2 separate regions of the Homo sapiens genome follow, and region 2 is linked to region 1. Evidence: promoter capture Hi-C in 16 types of primary human blood cells and fetal thymus (Javierre and others, 2016). All regions are on one chromosome and are shown on one strand. Each heading gives the region's core, a stretch centred on a gene start or on the middle of the fragment in contact. The rest is flanking DNA. Distances are from core to core; before and after follow the strand shown.

The links. Contacts are between HindIII fragments. The CHiCAGO score rates a contact against its expected background, and 5 or more counts as called.
Region 2: a fragment that was not itself captured here is called in contact with the fragment with the promoter of ZNF692 in region 1 in 1 of 17 cell types (fetal thymus); the score reaches 9.0 in fetal thymus.

Annotation. Positions count from the first base shown.
Region 1 is chr1:248,857,835-248,865,236 of GRCh38, reverse strand. It overlaps ZNF692 (zinc finger protein 692), which reads left to right and starts at 6,152. Exons shown (of 12, transcript NM_017865.4): 1 at 6,152-6,319; 2 at 6,916-7,106; 3 at 7,378-7,402. The coding sequence starts at 6,928. It overlaps ZNF692-DT (ZNF692 divergent transcript), which reads right to left and starts at 6,073. Exons shown (of 3, transcript NR_186117.1): 1 at 5,991-6,073; 2 at 2,450-2,608; 3 at 441-660. RefSeq lists enhancers at 1,467-1,606, 2,077-2,336, 5,668-5,817, 6,618-6,667, 7,268-7,347 and a silencer at 5,958-6,457. The HindIII fragment of the contact is 15,686 bases long and covers 1,136-7,402 here.
Region 2 is chr1:244,857,712-244,860,211 of GRCh38, reverse strand. It overlaps HNRNPU (heterogeneous nuclear ribonucleoprotein U), which reads left to right. Exons shown (of 14, transcript NM_031844.3): 5 at 838-937; 6 at 1,371-1,483; 7 at 1,938-2,201; 8 at 2,495-2,500. Among named protein-coding and RNA genes, the nearest start is that of SNORA100, 4.7 kb to the right of the region's middle. The HindIII fragment of the contact is 609 bases long and covers 946-1,554 here.

The DNA of each region.
Region 1 (7,402 bases), core at 4,903-7,402:
CCAGCCTGGACAACATAGTGGGAGACCATCTCTACAAAAGATTTAAAGAATTTGCTGGGCATGTTGGCATGCACCTGTCGTCTTAGCTACTTGGGGGTTGAGATGGGAGGATTGCTTGAGCTAGGACTTCAAGGATGCAGTGAGCTGTGATCGTGCCACTGCATTCCAGCCTCAGTGATGGAACAAGATACTGTCTCAAGAAAGAAAAACAAAAAGGATCCTCTGGCTGCGTGTGGAGGGTAGAATATAGAACACAAGAGTAAGGCAGAGAGAACAGTTGAGAGGTGCTGCAAGCCACGTTGGTGGACTGGATGGCAACAGGCCGCGTGGCAAGCAAGATTTGAATTCTGGGTATATTTTGCAGGTAGAGTTAATAGGATTTGTTGATGTGCAAGAAGTAAATGAGCCACAAAAAGGATTTTTTGACCTGAGCAATAGAAGGAAAAAACTCATCATTTACTGACAAAGGGAAGGCTAAGGGGAGGCAGATTATGGAGGAGGGAGAGTTCAGTTTTAGACCTTCCAGTTTGAGATACCTAATAGATGTGTCAAGTAAGCAGTTAGGAACGATCCTCTGGAGTCCAGGGGAGAGGTGATGCTTTGTGATCAAGTCCTGTCCATTTAGTTTTCAAGGTAAAGCATCTTTCATTATGGTCTGTCCTAGGGGAAAAAGCATGGTGTGGTTAGCCTCTGCATGAGTACCCAGAAAGTCTAAATATAGGCCAAAGGCTAGAAATAAGTATAGGCTTGAAGCCCAAGGCCCTAATCTAGTGGATCACAGTCTCTGCTCAGGGCTCCAAATGGGATGTTTAGTCACAAGCTGTTTTAGGTGCTCCTGGAGAGAGTGAACTGAAGACTAACAATGAGGAAAGGGGAGACAGAGAATTCTTTAGTTCCCACCATGTTTCCCAGTTCTGACTGGTGGGAGGCTTCATTTCTAACCAGCTGAATGAGCAGTGTGAGGAGGGTAAGATCTACCAGGTCCTGGTGGGTGGAAGCATGGAGAGAGAGCTAGGGCACAACTCAAAAATAGTCTGGTGAGTGGACTAAACAGGAGGGGAATGCAACAGGAATAGAACTAGAAGAAATGTCTTCAAATTGTTGGTGGCTCACCAACTCTTCTGTATTAGAAGCTTAATGCTGGAAGATGGCTGAAGAGAAATGGTTGTTTCATTTTTTAGCCCAAATGCCAAACTTTTTAGGTACAGAAGGAGGAAATGAGATGAGGCAAGGAAAAGGGGAGAAGATGAAGGAGAGAAAGAGGGGGCAAAATTATGCAATGAGAGAGTCAGAGGCGAGCAGGAGGAAGGGGCAGTTAGAAGTAAAACAGAAGGAACAACATTATAGCACCCAGGCTGTTCATGCTGAGGGGCACCTGCAGGTCAGTGCTGGTCTGCCCTCAGCCCTCACCTCGGCCTCCCTCCTGTGCTCATTGGCGCCCAAAGTCCAGAGGGGGCCGAGGCAGCAGGGGGCTGGCATGTCAGCGCTGCCCGAGTGTGCGCACACCCGGCCGGGTTGCAGTAGCGCCGGCCTTGGCCTCAACTTTGCTCTGAGATGAGAGTGGGCACTGGGAGCAGGGAGCAGCCAGGCACTGGGAGCAGACATTTCAGAGCCCGTGGAGCAGGCACCAGGAGCGGGGAGAGACCAGGCAGCAGAACCAGGCATTTCTGAGCCTCCGCGGGCAGCGGGGTCCTTCCCAGCCCCTGGAGAGTGAAGAGATGCCTGGGTCTGCAGCCACAGCTTGAGCCGCAGTAGCTGTGCCTGGGAGGGCGGGCTCCTGGCTGCTCCTGGCCCCCAAGAGCACAGGGAGGCCTTGGTCGGCAGCCACAGCCGGGCGGCAGAGGCTGCACCCGTGAGCGCGAAGGTCCCACCCTATCAACTCAGGAGGGGGCGGGGCTTCTGCCTGTTCCTGGCTCCACTCGCTTCATGGAGCGCTGCAGCCAGCATCACGGCAGTGGCCACCCTAGACGGGCTGCTGCTGCCATCAGCACAACCACAGCGAGGGTGGGCAGCTGCTGCTTCAGCACCAGGAGCAACATGTCGCTCCGCTGCCGGCGTCGCGGGCTCCGCCGCGTCAAGCACCCCTGCAGACGCTGAATTTACCACGGCGAGTCTCTTGGCGGCTGGCTTCCTCCTCCTTCATGTCGTCTGCCCTCCGGCCCGGAGCCAAAGCTAACAGGACCAACCCAGGCAGCTGGGCCAGCCAGGAGCAAGGGCAACCGCATCTCTTGTATACCACCCCACCCTACCTGGGCCACATGGCATCACAGAGCGCCCAGGTCAGCCGCACTAGGGCATGATCAGACTCAGGGTAGAGGCACCACCCTTCAGTTGTCAGGGGCTCAGGGGAAACGGAATTGCACTCCCAGCAATGATGACTAGTTGGAGGATGAAGACACCAGTCACTGAGAGGATGAGGGCTGAGAAAGAGGGAGGTTCATGCAAATACCTGGAGCTGGGCTGGGCTGAGGGTGTCTGTGGGTCTCGTGGAATTTGGGGTACAAAGTCCTGAAGGAGTGTTCCTTTTCCCACTGGGAATACATCTCAGGATTTGAGGGCAGTGGGTTGACTCAACTTCTGTAGCAATTTGGCTCATTCCTCCTTGGATCTGGAGAGTGGAAAGTAGTTTTTCTCTTTGGAGAGAAGATACTAAAAGTTCAGAGGGTACAGCAATATTAGATTTGGCTGTGCCAAAGCAGGAGATAAGAAGAGCGCTATGGTGCCATGCATAGTCCAGGAAAAATAAATGTTATGAAGATAAATATGTCCTCCACATGGACCCTTTTATGTGTATAAAAGAATTGGCAGTTTCAGCAGTCTGTAAACTGTAAAGCTCAACAGTGACAAAAATACAAATAGCTCACATTTAATCTTAGCCTTTGTAATGGGATGCTAAGATGGAATTCAAGGTCTCAGACTGCAATGAGGTCACTAAAGGCAGAGAACCAATGTTTACAGAGAACCCCTCCTTAAAATGTTAGCACTCCCTTGCAGCACTTACAAAGGAAGGGGCTGGTGACTGTTTTTGAGAGAGTTGGCTCATTCCTTACCTAGATGATATAAGAAATTAAAGAGAGGCTGAGAGATTTATTTGGAGACGGTTATTGAAGAGCTGGGCATTGGCAGTAATTTCATTTTATTATTTTAAACAAGATCAAACCAAGAGAACCAAAAATGTTCTTGGGTCTCAAAGTGAGACCCAACATTCTAAGAGTAACCAAGAATTACAAGACCTTTCATTCCCTTGGATGAAACCACAAGGATTTTGCAGATATCTATTAAGGGACCATGAGGAAAGGATAAAGTTTGTTCTCGATGGAGTCCTGCTCTTTTGATGTGAAAGTTACACTTTCATTAATGAGTAAAGTAGCTGGAAAAGTTACACATTCATTAATGAGTAAAGTAGCTGGGACATCTTCCTTCCTACCTTACACTAGTCAGACAAGTATGTTGAGTCACTGATACCACAAATCAAAAGGAATATGCACAGGACACACTGGGCTCATCCTAAGGGTGTTCATGTTTGCACACCATGTCATTTGAGATATTTAGGCTGCAGAGGAGAAGGCTGGGCTAGTCAACAATCATCGTATACCAATAACAAACACACAAACAAGTCCCTGAGATGATTTCAGAAAGTAAGTGCCATGAAGAAGATACAATAGGGCACAGTGAGGTAGAGCATGACTGAGGAAAGGGAGCTTTCTGAATGAGGGATTTTATAGCTGAGTGGGTGATCTTATAGCCGAGATTTACAAGATGAGAAGGGAGCAAACAGATGAACAGCTGGGTGGTGGGCTGGGGGATGGGGTGGGGGCTGAGGGGAGAATTGAGTGCTCCAGAGACAAAAGAACTCCCTCTAGGATACTTGGCACACTTGAGAAATAGCAAAAAGGTGGGAGGACAAAGTGGGAAAAGTTGGGGGATGATGCCAGAGAAGAAGCCAAGGGCCCAATTAAGTAGGTCCTTGAGGCCATGATAAGGATTTTGGATTGCACCACTCACAGATTTTAAGCAAAAGATTTGATCTTTGAGGAAATTTTCCCTGCTTTGTGAGAGTACAAGTTAAAGTAGGAGGCAGATCCATTAGGAAGATGTAGCCACAGACCAGGTGAGAGATGATAGTGGTATGGTAGGCTTAAAAATAGTCCCAGAAAAGATATCTGTGTCCTAATCCCCAAAACTTGTGGAGATTACTTTATTTTATTTTAGATGGAGTCTTGCTCTGTCACTCGGGCTGGTGTGCAGTGGTGCAATTTCGGTTCACTGCAACCTCCTCCTCCTGGGTTCAAGCAATTCTTCTGCCTCAGCCTCCCGAGTAGCTGGGATTATAGGCCCATGCCACCATGCCCAGCTAATTTTTTTTGTATTTTTAGTAGAGACAGGGTTTCACCATGTTGGGCAGGCACATCTCAAACTCCTGACCTCAAGTGATCCACCCGCCTTGGCCTCCCAAAGTGCTGGGATTACAGGCGTGAGCCACCGTGTGCAGCCGATTACTTTATATGGCAAATACTTTACAGAAGAAATTGTCTTAGGATACTGAGATGGAGAGATTATTTGGATTATAAGGATGGACTCTAAATGCATTCACAAGCATCCTTGTAAGAGAGAAGCAGAGGGAGATTTGACACAGAAGGAGGCAATGTGACCTCAGAGACAGAGATTGGAGTGACGTGGCCACAAGTCAGAGAATGCTGGCCACCATTAGAAGCTAGAAGAAGCAAGGAAAGGATTCTCCCCTAGAGCCCTTACAATGGCCTGTGGCCCTGCTGATGCCTTGGCCTCCAGAACTGTGAGAAAATAAATTTGAGTAAAGGGAGCAAGTTTGTGGCTGAAAACAACACACAACACAATTTGTTACAACAATTACAGAAAATTAATACCAGTGGCTTGGAGTAGGGTTTTAGCAGTTGAGAGGGTCAGAAGTGATTGGATTTAAGATAAATTTTTGGAGACAGGACCAACAAGATTTGCTGATGTATATGGTTTAGGTATCATAAAAGGCAAAGAATCAAGGCTGATTCCCTTTTTTCTGAACAAGTGGGTGGATGATGACATAGTTTACTGGCATGGGGGAGGGTACAGGCGTTATTGTTATATGTTTGCCATATTTATGTTGGAGAAAATATCAGCTATCATGTGTCAGCGCTCTCTACATGCCAGGCACTGTCCTACATTCTTTACACGTGTTAGCTCAGTTAACACATGTAAGTCAAGCGGGCAGTAAGATATATGACTGGAGTTGAAAGAGGGCTAGGCTAGGAGCCATCAGTGTATTTAAAGCCATGGAACTAATTAGATCACCCAGGAGAACATATGCAGACGAGAGAAGATCTGGTTCAAGGCCTGAGCCAGGGCACACTTCATCTTTTGGCAGAACAGAGGGAATGGATCCAAAAAAAGGATAGAAGGAGCCAGTGAGGAGGGTGGAAAACCTGGAGCATATGAAGTCACAGAAGTAAAACTGGGGCCCAAAATGTAGAGGGAGCCATAAAGATGAGGAGGACGAGAGCTACATAGTCGCGCTCTTTCTAGGGCAGAGAGGCGGACGGAACTGACAGCTGCTATGTAGCAATATGACCGTCTCAAGTGACCTTGTGAAGCGCCACTGCAGTGGCTGGGTGGGGAGGAAAGCTCCATCAGAGCCATTTGAAGAGAAGAGGATGGGAAGTGAGCGTACACAGAGAATGCAGGCAACTTTTAGGAGGAATTCTGATGGTAATAGAAGTGGGCTGTAGCTGGTGGGACTCTGCGGTCCACAGAGGGCTCTAGCTGGACCCTCTGTGGGTCTTTCAAAGTGACTGATTCTGCATCATGTTTGCGGGTGGCAACTGTGAGGGGGAAATCGAAGGTGAATACAAAACGGGAACAAGTGAAGAGGCAACGTCCCCATACAGGCCGGGTGGGCTGGGGTTGGAGCACAGGAGGCCTGACCCTGTCTCTTCCACTTTCCCTCAAACCTTTGGTCACCAAGCGCAGACGCTCACCACAGAAGCCACCCAACCACAACTGCCGCGGGGCTCCGCGACACGCGCGGGCGACTTGAGTCGGGCAACCACGATTCCCGGCGGGCGTTGCGCGGGGCACCCAGTGCGCAGGCGCACGGCGTCGGCCTCCGACTCGCCCCTCCCTCTGGGGCGCGGGCCTCAGTTCCGGGCTACAGCAGCCGACGCCGAGAGGCACCGTTTCTTCTTAAAAGAGAAACGCTGCGCGCGCGAGGTGGGCCCCTGTCTTCCAGCAGCTCCGGGCCTGCTCGCTAGGCCCGGGAGGCGCAGGCGCAGGCGCAGTGGGGGTGAGGGCGCGTGGGGGCGCACAGGTAAGGCCGGGGTGGGGGTGGGTCGCGACGGGGGCTCTGGGCAGCCTGGGAACTGCCATTGGGATTAGTCCGCTCCACTCACTGTCAGCATTAAGTGGGGGTGCCCAAGACGGGGTGGATGGGGGGCGCCCTCCAGACCTCTGACCACGGCCTCACCGCCACTCGACCCAACTATGAAGAGCGCCCCCAGCTGCACGCCAGGACACGACCTTTCCTTCCCCTAGAAACCAGTAAAGGCCGCTGCCCTATTCAAGATGAAATGTGTGGACCGCCCCCAGCCCAGTTGAAATTTCCCGTGAAAGTCTCTCGCCCCTTCCCCACAGCTCCACTTCAGTGGACTGGAGGGCGCAGGCCTTTGTTCTGACTGCTTCTGTCTGCCTGCCTCCCACCCGACGACACTCACATGGTAGCGCTGAGCTTCAACACCCTGTATCATAGAAGGACGGGGTTTGGCTCCACACCTGCCACTGCTATTGAAATAGTTTAGTCTTGCCCCAGTTCACTGATGAGGAAACTGAGGCCCTAACGGCAGGTGGAGCCGGGTCCCCGACCCCCGAGATCGGCAGGGCGCTGAAGACGTCCCTTCCACCCTCCAGCCTCTGGTGCACATGGCTTCCTCCCCGGCGGTGGACGTGTCCTGCAGGCGGCGGGAGAAGCGGCGGCAGCTGGACGCGCGCCGCAGCAAGTGCCGCATCCGCCTGGGCGGCCACATGGAGCAGTGGTGCCTCCTCAAGGAGCGGCTGGGCTTCTCCCTGCACTCGCAGCTCGCCAAGTTCCTGTTGGACCGGTTAGGGGCCGGGAGAAGGGCTTGGGGGAGGGTACCCAGGCAGCAGCCCCTAGCCTCCTCTCCAGGGCCTGTCCTGCTGCTCTTTTCCACCCTCAGGTTTCTCACTTTACCAGGACGGCCTGTGTGACTTGTGGCCTCCGAGGGTCCTGCTCCCCTCCTCATGGTCTCAGCGAATAGCGGCCCTTAGGGCTGGCCCCTTACATGTGTGAGTGCCCAGGGCTGAGGGTGGCTGGCCACCTGAGTCCTGACCTGCCTCTTCTCCTGCTGGCAGGTACACTTCTTCAGGCTGTGTCCTC
Region 2 (2,500 bases), core at 1-2,500, 4.0 Mb after region 1:
CTCCTTGCTTCAGTCTCTCAAGTAGCTCGGACTAGAGGCACACACTACCACACCTGGCTAATTTTTGTATTTTTAATAGAGATGGGGTTTCACCACGTAGGCCAGGCTGGTCGCCAACTCTTGACCTCAGGTGATCCACTGTCTCGGCGTCCCAAAGTGCTGGGATTACAGGCATGAGCCACTGTGCCCAGCCTTTTTTTTTCCTTTTTAAAATAGTGACAAGGTCTCACCATGTTGCCCAGGCTGGTCTTGAACTCCTAAGCTCAAGTGATCTGCCCGCCTGAGCCTCTCAGAATGCTGGAATTACAGGTGCTTCATACTGCTAAGTTATCAAAGGTACTTATTTTTGAAGCTTCCTGTAAATTAAAAGAGGAGCTTGGAACCTTCATTTTGTTGTGACAGTTAATCACGGTTGTTATGTTAGAACTTGCCATGCAGAGCTAGGCGATTTTTTATTTAGGGTACTTCATTTTTATCAAGCATTTGAAAGGGCCACCAAAGAGTTAAAAATAAAATTTGGTTACATTACTGCTTTTGTTGGTGAGAAAAACATTAATTGTATCCTTTAATTGGCTTTAAGTTAAAGACTGACAACATGAACTTTAAAAATATTAAGTATTCTTTTAAATATGGGTCAAATAAGTATTTAACTCTTTAAATTTCAAGTTATAAGCACATCAGTTTAAAGTTCTTACAAATATTGGGGGTGGGCTAGAGTGTGCCTTCTTTGTATTTATAGCTAGAGGAAGATTAGCCCGTGGCGCAATGAAATATGCGAGAGTTAAGGGGTTACCTCCTTGGTGTATTATTTTAATTATTTAATGATTTGACTTTCAGGTTACAGAGAAGATCCCAGTAAGGCATTTATATACAAAAGATATTGACATACATGAAGTTCGTATTGGCTGGTCACTAACTACAAGTGGAATGTTACTTGGTAAAGCTTCTTTTTGACTGATGTGGGCTCATGAATGTTCAGGAGGGTCTGATTTCAGTGTTTTTTAACTAGAGGGCATTCTAAGCCTTTTGTCTGTTTTTATCTATTCTGTTAATACTTCAGACAGGTAATATTAGCACATAGTAGGCACAGGCTACATTTTAGTTTTTGTTCCTTTATTAGAAGTTTATGACCAATGGTTGAAATAAAATCTTACCCGTGATATGCAAATCGTCAACTAATTTGGTCTCTGCGTATATATCCCTCCTAACTTCCATCAATTCTGGTACAGAGATAGAAAAGTAATAGTGTCAGTGACAGGTGATTAGGTTATATGCTTATTTCTCTTGTAGCCTACATCTTAAGTAGTAAAATAGATGAGTCTTTGGACTATTTTAAACATCTACTTCATGAAGATTAATTATTTTCTTAGGTGAAGAAGAATTTTCTTATGGGTATTCTCTAAAAGGAATAAAAACATGCAACTGTGAGACTGAAGATTATGGAGAAAAGTTTGATGAAAATGATGTGATTACATGTTTTGCTGTAAGTTAAAGCTAACTTTCTATGTATAAATGGCAAAGTTAGTAGCTATATCTAGGAACTTTAAAGAAGCTTTACTGAGGTCAGTTTTCAATATGAGCAACAAAATACACCAGTCCCTGGATTAGTGTAAAGACTTCATTCAGCAGTTGAATTGGGAAAACACAGGACATTTTTGAGGAACTCACTAATTCATTTTGACTGAAAACAGTGAACATGAAATTGACCTAGAAAATTCAGTCTAGCTTCTAGGTCAGTATTGTTTCTGGTTCTGGAGATACGTGCTTCATGGTTTACAACCATCAGATTTCTTAACTGTGTAGCCCTTAAAGGCCACCTAATAGTTCTTTAACCTGTAGCTTCCACAGGATAAGCTTTGCTCCTAATTTTAATTCTTAGTTTTTTAGAAAGTTTAAGGAAGCAGATTTTAACTGTTGAATTTTTTTCTGTGTAACAGAACTTTGAAAGTGATGAAGTAGAACTCTCGTATGCTAAGAATGGACAAGATCTTGGCGTTGCCTTCAAAATCAGTAAGGAAGTTCTTGCTGGACGGCCACTGTTCCCGCATGTTCTCTGCCACAACTGTGCAGTTGAATTTAATTTTGGTCAGAAGGAAAAGCCATATTTTCCAATACCTGAAGAGTATACTTTCATCCAGAACGTCCCCTTAGAGGATCGAGTTAGAGGACCAAAGGGGCCTGAAGAGAAGAAAGATTGTGAAGTAAGGGATTTTTTTTTTTTTAACTGTGGCATTTGAATATTGCTTGCCTGGCACAAAATGACATTTAGAAGAACTAGATGATTAGTCTGTTTCATTTACTTTGTGCTGTGCATATTGCTCTTAAGTAATTGTTTCCCCCTTATGTTGACTGTTAATCTTTCCATAAACAAATTTTTGTCCGTTAGTGTAAGGGCTATGAAAACTTAGATATTTAAATTGGCCTTAACAATATTTAAAGAATTATTAGGTGGTGTCTACTGACAGTGAAATGACATTTCTTTTCTTTTCACTAGGTTGTG